Regions from separate parts of the Homo sapiens genome. Here region 1 is linked to region 2. Evidence: promoter capture Hi-C in human tissues and cell types (Jung and others, 2019). All regions are on one chromosome and are shown on one strand. The core of a region is centred on a gene start or on the middle of the fragment in contact, and the rest is flanking DNA. Distances in the headings are between cores, read along the strand shown.

Region 1 (3,842 bases), core at 1,177-3,676, 210 kb after region 2:
AGGCAGCAATTTAATAATCTCCATGGATATGTTCTCCAGGGGTATGGTAGCATTATTATTTTTCAAGTGACAAGTAAAAATTGTGTAAATTTATGGTGTACAAATGATGTTTTCATATATGTATACATTGTGGAATGGCTAAATCAAGCTATTTAGGCATTACTACACATACTTTTTTTGTGGTAAGAATGTTTAATGTCACTCTCTTAGAAATTTTCAGATGTATAATACATTGTTATTACCTGTAGTCACCATGATGTGTAATAGGTCTCTTGAACTTATTCTTTCTAACTGAAATTTGGCATCCTTTGACCAATATCTTCCCAGCCCCCTGGTAACCATCATTATACTCTCTTTCCATTAGTTCAACTTTTTTGGATTCCACATATAACTGAGATCATGCAGCATTTATCTTTCTGTGCCTGGCTTATTTCACTTAATGTAATATCCTCAAGGTTTATCCATGTTGTTCCAAGTGACGGCATTTTCTTCTTTTTTTTAAGACTGAATAGTATTCCATGGTGTATATACACCACATTTTCTTTATCCATTTTTCCACCGATGAGCACTTAAGTTGATTCTTTATCTTGGCTATTGTGAATAATGTTGCAATGAATGAAAGGGTGTAGATATCTCTTTGAGATCCTGATTTCATTTCCTTCGGATATATAGTAGTGGGATTGCTGGATCATGGGGTAGTTCTATTTTTAGTTTTTTGAGAAACCGTCATACCATTTTCTACAATGGCTATGCAGATTTATATTTCCACCAACAGTGTACAAAGGTTTTCTTTTCTCCATGATGTGGTGGTATAATCATGCATGCCCATCACTAAGTGTGGGAGTGCCTGTTTCACTACGTCCTTAGCAACAGAATGTTTTGTTAAGCAGTTAGATTTTTGCCATTAGATGTTTCCTTTAAACAACAGTTATTTATCATGCCTTGTAAACAGTTCCACAGAATAGAAAATGATGGAAATTATAATAGCGCTCACTGCTTTTATGCTTATCATATATAATGGCATTAATAATGCTTGTAAAACACTTCACAACTATACAGAAATACAGCTGACACAGACTAATGAACAACTCTATGACCAAGGATAAATGATGGTGCAAGGTAGCTTAAACCATCTGTTAGCAACAGTGATATACTTTCGGGGGAGCCTTGCTCTGTTCCCAACAATTGAAGTAGAGAAACTTCTGTATTTTTATCTTTTTGAATTTTATAGTTTGTTTCACTCAGATTTAAGCCTAGAACAACTTTTGGTATAAAATGAGGCTCCTTGTTAAAAACTTCTTATTCTTTGCTTATTTTAAGATTAACTACAAAAATCAACATGTAGAAAATACCCCCATAGGTTGTTTCCATTTAATATGTACTTTTGACATTCATAAATATTTTTTACAAAAGTTGGTTTGTCATTTCAAATTTTTATACCTTTACTAATGAAGTAATTGTTTCTTATCTCTAGTTTCCTGAATCCGATATTCTTTTTAGAAAACATTTACTTTTCTAATTTTTATTTATATTAGAATTCTAAAGAATTGATTAAGTTGATTCTTTATCTTGGCTATTGTGAATAATGTTGCAATGAATGAACGGGTGTAGACATCTCTTTGAGATCCTGATTTCATTTCCTTTAGATATATAGTAGTGGTATTGCTGGATCATGGGGTATATAATAATATAAATAATTATTTACATTAGAATAATATATATAATTATTCATATTACTTATTAAATAATAATTATTAAATAATTATTATATATAATAATCATTTATATATAATTATCATTTATATAATTATTTATATTATGTTATAATATAAATAATTATTTATATTATATTATGTTATAATATAATTATATATATTATATTATAATATAATATAAATAATTATTTATATTACTCTAATATAAATAATTATTTATATTACTCTAATATAAATAATTATTTATATTACTCTAATATAAATAATTATTTATATTACTCTAATATAAATAATTATTTATATTACTCTAATATAAATAATTATTTATATTACTCTAATATAAATAATTATTTATATTACTCTAATATAAATAAAATATTAGCTAGGCATCACAGTAGTTAAAATATATTGAATATGAAAATATGCTCCCTGCTGGGGAACACCACTCAGAGACACATCTCCTTACATTCTAGACACATTCTCTATTGAGTTTAGAAATGTTTGATTGAAATCTGTAAAGGTTAAGTCATCATATTAATAGCAGTGCTATTAACAATCACAAAATTAATGGGAATAATAATGAGCCCTGGTGTGTAAAATGCCATAGTTAGCATAAACACCATAATGCCTCTGTGTATGACATTTTTGTATTGCCACAGGGAAAAGTTCAGTGAGCTAGTTCCCCAAGTACAGCCAATACATTATTACTGCAAATAAACTGCTCATTATCTAAGATGTTTTGCAACTTTTGGAGAAGCAAAATGAGGCATTCCTGAAGGAAATATTTGTTGTTGTGTTGTAAAATATAAAAGTGATTTTTAAAGAGGTGAAATTAAGAACAGTTCTATACATCACATTCATTATCATTTTAAAGTAAAACATGTTCACTGCAAAAACTTTGAAAATACACACGTGCACACATACATATCCACCACTGAAAACTACCCATAGTCCTACCACCCACGGGTGATGTATCACTGTATAAATTTAGTTCTATCAGTCTCTGTCCTAACTCGGTAAGTGGGGAACACACAGTTGGTAGTTTCATATGTTGCATTTTCAAAATATAACATCAAAAACTTTTCTCAGGTCACCGAAAGTTAATTAAAAACATGATTTTAGTATTATTGCATTGTCTTTATTTAACCACTGATAGCCCCTGGTTTTTAGCTACTCAAATTGCCCTCCAGAAAACTTTTATCAGTTTAAATTTTCACCAGCTGGGACAGAGTAGCTGTCTTTCAGAATCCTTCACAACTCTGGATATTATTATTGGTTTTTTGTTAACTTGATGGGATAAATCGATAATTGATACTCATTAAATATTTATATTTTTTGAATACGAATTTGTAAATAAAATTATAAGACTCAAATATGCTTGATGTAGCCATAATTGAAATTATAGTTGAAATCAGACAAATGAAAACGTGCACATACAAACATTTGTACATGAATGTTAATACCAGCATTATTTATAATGGCCAAAAAGTATAAACAACTCAAATTCCCACTAACAGATGAATGGATAAATGTGGCATATCCATATAATGAATATTTTTTGGCAATAAAAAGGAATAAAGTACTGCTACATGCTATACCATGAATGCACCTTGAAAACATCATGTTAAGTGAAACAAGCCAGTCACAAAGGACTATATATTTTGTGATTCCATTTATGAAATATCCAGAACAGTTAAGTCCTGGACAAAATATTAGCCAATTTAATCTATCAATATAGGACAGTATATAATGAACAAAGAGGTTTATCTCAGGAAAGCAAGGCCAACTCAACAATTGAAAAATCAACCAGCATTTCACTATATCAACAGACTAACAAAGACAAACTATAGGCTAGGCACGGTGGCTCACACCTGTAATTCCAACACTTTGGGAGGCTAGGGAGGGCAGATTGCTTGAGCCCAAGAGTTTGAGACCAGCCTGGGCAATATGTATCTCTACAACAAACCACAAATTAGTCAGGTGTGGTGGTGTGTGCCTGTAGCCCCAACTACTTGGGAGGCTGAGGTGGGAGGATTGCTTGAGCCCCAGAGGTCAAGGCTGCATTGAGCCCTGATCGTACCACCACACTCCACCTGGGTGGCAGAGTGAGACTCTCTCTAAAAAAAA
Region 2 (4,392 bases), core at 1,865-4,364:
TTTAATTTCTAATGCAGTAAACATCAATAGATTAACCCACATAAACAAAAGCTCTTTGGGATCTCCAACAATTTTTAAGAATTTGAAGAAGTCTTGGAAGCAAAACTTTTGAGAACTGCTGCTTCAAGCAGTCCTAGTTCCTTTCAGTGGAAAATGTACATGAGAGATCACAACCTAAGAACAAAAGATGCTCATGATTATTGGTTTGCCAATTTCTTTTAGGCCATTATCAACAGGTAGAGCTAAGACAAAATTATATACATTTTTAAAGATAAAATACAATATGAGTTCATACTGATTCTTCCTGTTCACAATTTGACTATAGGATTTTTACTTAAACACATACAATTTATATACATGTCTCCCCATACCAAAAAAGATCAGTTTTTACAACACTCACGTAAACAGTTATTTTCAGTGTCAGATTAACAATACCATGATCAACACCACTATCCTCAATATGATTATTTAAAACAGTTTAAGATTTTTTTTTTTTTTTTTTGAGACGGAGCCTCTCTCTGTCACCCAGGCTGGAGTGCAGTGGCGCGATCTCGGCTCACTGCAAGCTCCGCCTCCCAGGTTCATGCCATTCTCCTGCCTCAGCCTCCCGAGTAGCTAGGACTACAGGCGCCTGCCACCACACCTGGCTAATTTTTGTATTTTTAGTAGAGACGGGGTTTCACTGTGTTAGCTAGGAAGGTCTCGATCTCCTGACCTTGTGATCCACCCGCCTTGGCCTCCCAAAGTGCTGGGATTACAGGCGTGAGCCACCACGCCTGGCCAAGATTTTTTTTAAGTTGTTTTTTTTTTGTTTGTTTTTGCGGGTTGTCTCTCAGTGGATTTACAATAATTCAATGGTTTAAAGTTATAGTTGATCCTTGAAAAAAACAGGTTGAACTTCGAGGGTCCATCATACGTGGATTTTCTTCTGCCTCTGGCACCCCAAGACAGCAAGACCAACCCCTCTCTTTGCCTCCTTATGATTTTCTTAATAACAGTTTATTTTCTCTGGCTTACTTTATTGTAATAATATAGCATATAATACATATACAAAATGTGTGTTAATTGACTGTATGTTATCAGTAAAACTTCTGGTCAAGAGTAGGCTATTAAGTTTTTGGAGAGTCCAAAGTTATATGTGGATGTTTGATTGTGCCAAGTGGAGGGGATTGGCACTACTAACCCTAGCGTTGTTACAAGGGCTATTGTATTTAGAATGATGTGTACCTTTGAGATTATGCCACCAAGTGGACCAATTAAGAGCTACTGGTTTTTACTTGATTTTTATGGACTGCTTTTTGTAAATTTAATTTTGTTTTGTAATGATATTGTTAAAATTAAAACTTTAGAAAAATTAAATTTAGCAGAAATTAATTGAGCAATGACCAATTTGAGAATCAGGCAGCCCTCAGAACCAGAGGAGGTTCAGAAAGTATCGTTCCACAAAGAGGCCAGGCAGCACGCATAGAAAAAAAACAGAAATGAGATACAGAAACAGCTTGATTGGCTACAGGTTGGCCTTTGCCTTATTTGAACATGGGCTGATCAGTTGACCACCTGTGATGATTGGCTGAGACTCAGTTATTTGTTACAGAAGTATATTCCTAAGTTAGGCTGTGAGTTAAATTGCATACTAAGTTGGGTTGCAGTTCATTATATAAGGACTCAAAATACGGAGACATCTTTAAGCTAAATTTAATTTCACAATATGAAATATTTACTTGGTTCTAAAGTCAAATTTATGAAGTAAGATGTTTCCAGAGATGTCTAGATTCTATCCCTGTCTCCTCTATCCTATTTATTTCCTCCACCATAGGTAGCATCTTTAAAAACCTCAATTGTTTTCATTCCCATTATTTTGAAAATTTAAGAAAATATGTATATATATTGAAATTACCACCATCTTTCTCTTTTTGGGTAAAAGCATACTGTACAAATTCCTATCCATTTTTTTTCCACTTTGTAATGTATTCTGGAGATCACACCACAGATGTATATAGAGTTCTTCCTTATTACTTTTGACGATTGTATTAGCATTTCATTGCTTTGTTGTGTGAAAGTTTTTGGGAAGCCACTGTTTTGGACTAGCTTCACGCACTAGGCCCCAGCAGACCAGACCAAACCAGAATGGAGTCGTTTGTGCTAAGTACCACACAATCAAACTGAACTTTGAAATGGGCCAGTTTCCCAAAAAATAGGAAATTCCCTTAAGTCTGAGTCAGTGAAACAAGGAAGTTTCTTCTGCTTTAACCCTAAAAGTAACTTTGAAACGATGAGTCCACTTTTTGTTCGGTTTCTGCTTTCTTCAGCCCCTATTTGCCAATAAAACCAACCGCCTCTGCTCAGCTGATCAGAACACTCATTCTACTTTATAGAATGAGGTGTTTTTTGATTCTAGAATCACGAATAAGAGTCAATTAAGATTTTTAAACTAATTCGTTGTAATGCTGTCTTTTGACTGTTGTACTACAATTTATTCAAGCAGTCCTTTATTTAGGAATTTGGGGGTAATTTCCAATATTTTGGTATTATGAATCGTGCTGAATAGTCGTGCATGCTCTTTCATATTTTCACCACACGTATTTTTGGGTGAAAGCATGAATTCATCTATGCAATTTTGCTAGATATTAAGCTACTCTTTTCACTATTCCTGTACAGATGGAGGGACAGATGAGACAGCTGCCCAGGGCACTTCAGCAGTTACTGGCATAGCTGGGATTTGAACTGGGATGTAACTATTTTCATACACTCTCTAGGTCATTCCAAGGTGGGAGAGGCAAGCAAATAATTTTGAATCTGGCCAGCATATTCACTGAAACATTTATGCTTATCCTTCCTCCTCCCAGCATACAAGTTCTTCCTTAGCAAAACCTCCAGTCCTCTAATTTAGCATACTTTCGTCTAATCTGTCACTTTCCTCAGGCCCCACAACTACGAGTACTCCTTGTCCCCACCCGGTCCTAATTTGGTCGGGTATAGCGGAGGTGGGCGTAGAGAGAACTGGAGGTGGAGACCTTTGTGCATGCCCACACACTGCTTTCCTCGCGAGGAATCTGGGGCCCTTGCAGAGGCGGAACCAGGATGTGACGTAATAACCGCGCGCGGCGCTCGGCGTTCCCGCAAGGTCGCTTTGCAGAGCGGGAGCGCGCTTAAGTAACTAGTCCGTAGTTCGAGGGTGCGCCGTGTCCTTTTGCGTTGGTACCAGCGGCGACATGACGGGGTACACTCCGGATGAGAAACTGCGGCTGCAGCAGCTGCGAGAGCTGAGAAGGCGATGGCTGAAGGACCAGGAGCTGAGCCCTCGGGAGCCGGTGCTGCCCCCACAGAAGATGGGGCCTATGGAGAAATTCTGGAATAAATTTTTGGAGAATAAATCCCCTTGGAGGAAAATGGTGAGTGACAGACCTCTCCGGTCCCCCCCAACACATCCCACTGCTGCCGGCAGCCTGAACACTGAACGTCCGCTCCCTGCAGCCACACCAAGGACTGATAACGCTCAGTGCTCTGGGACACTGGCCAGTCCCGAGAGTCCTCCTGGAGTCTCGGGAGGCAGGAGTCCAGGAATATGTATGGCTTTGAGAGAATCATGCCTTTTACTGTCAAGTACAGTGGACGGGGGCGAATTTTAATACTTAGGTTTTCCAGGACGCTGCACGTTTGGTTCTCTTTTGACTGTAGAAATCTTCCCTCAGAATAATAACCAAGGACTCGCTAGAATTAAAATTCTGTGATTTAAGTATTTGAGGACACTTGTCTGACTTTTAAGTGTGAGGTTCTAGAGACCAAGTAACACAGTATCCAACCACCAGAGGGCACAGCCAGCCCCTAGCTGATAGTACAGCCCCATGTGATCCCCGTAAAAGACAGGGTCCTGTTGGTATGCCTTGTGAGTCACATTCAAGAGCTACCTTTCTAAACTACCGTTCTGTACTTTTAACACAGTGTTTCATTAAAAAAATCGCATTTTGGGCTTTGAAGAAAATCACTCATTCAAGAACTTTATTTTCAAGGCCTCTGGGTATTTTCTTGAGGACTGTTATGGATGATAAACATCTCAGAATTGCTTTCAGTTACCTGCAACACTTACTGATGACAGGATAATAGTAGTAACAATACTACGTAACACACGGGTGCTTGCTGTGTGCTTGGCACTCTACTGGGGGTTTTACATGTGTTACTTCATTTCTTTATTCCTGTAAGGTAGATATTCCTAATCCTCATTTTAAATGTGAAGAAACTGAGGCCTACAAAGCTTCAGTGATTTGCTGGTGGTCAGGGAGCTAGGAATTGAATATGAGTTCATATTGTAATCAACATGTATCTGATTCTTACTGTGCTACAAAGTCTAGTGCAATAGAATTGTTGAAAATTTTTCTGAGAAAGTGATATTGG

What was found. Contacts are between HindIII fragments. The study calls those that stand out against the background at their distance.
Region 1: a fragment that was not itself captured here is called in contact with the fragment with the promoter of NDUFB6 in region 2 in 2 of the 25 tissues and cell types used here (heart right ventricle and spleen).

Annotation. Positions count from the first base shown.
Region 1 is chr9:32,358,471-32,362,312 of GRCh38, reverse strand. No RefSeq gene overlaps it. Among named protein-coding and RNA genes, the nearest start is that of ACO1, 24 kb to the left of the region's middle. The HindIII fragment of the contact is 5,283 bases long and covers 1-3,842 here.
Region 2 is chr9:32,571,881-32,576,272 of GRCh38, reverse strand. It overlaps NDUFB6 (NADH:ubiquinone oxidoreductase subunit B6), which reads left to right and starts at 3,114. Exons shown (of 4, transcript NM_002493.5): 1 at 3,114-3,392. The coding sequence starts at 3,213. RefSeq lists enhancers at 2,707-2,756, 3,027-3,566. The HindIII fragment of the contact is 12,015 bases long and covers 1-4,392 here.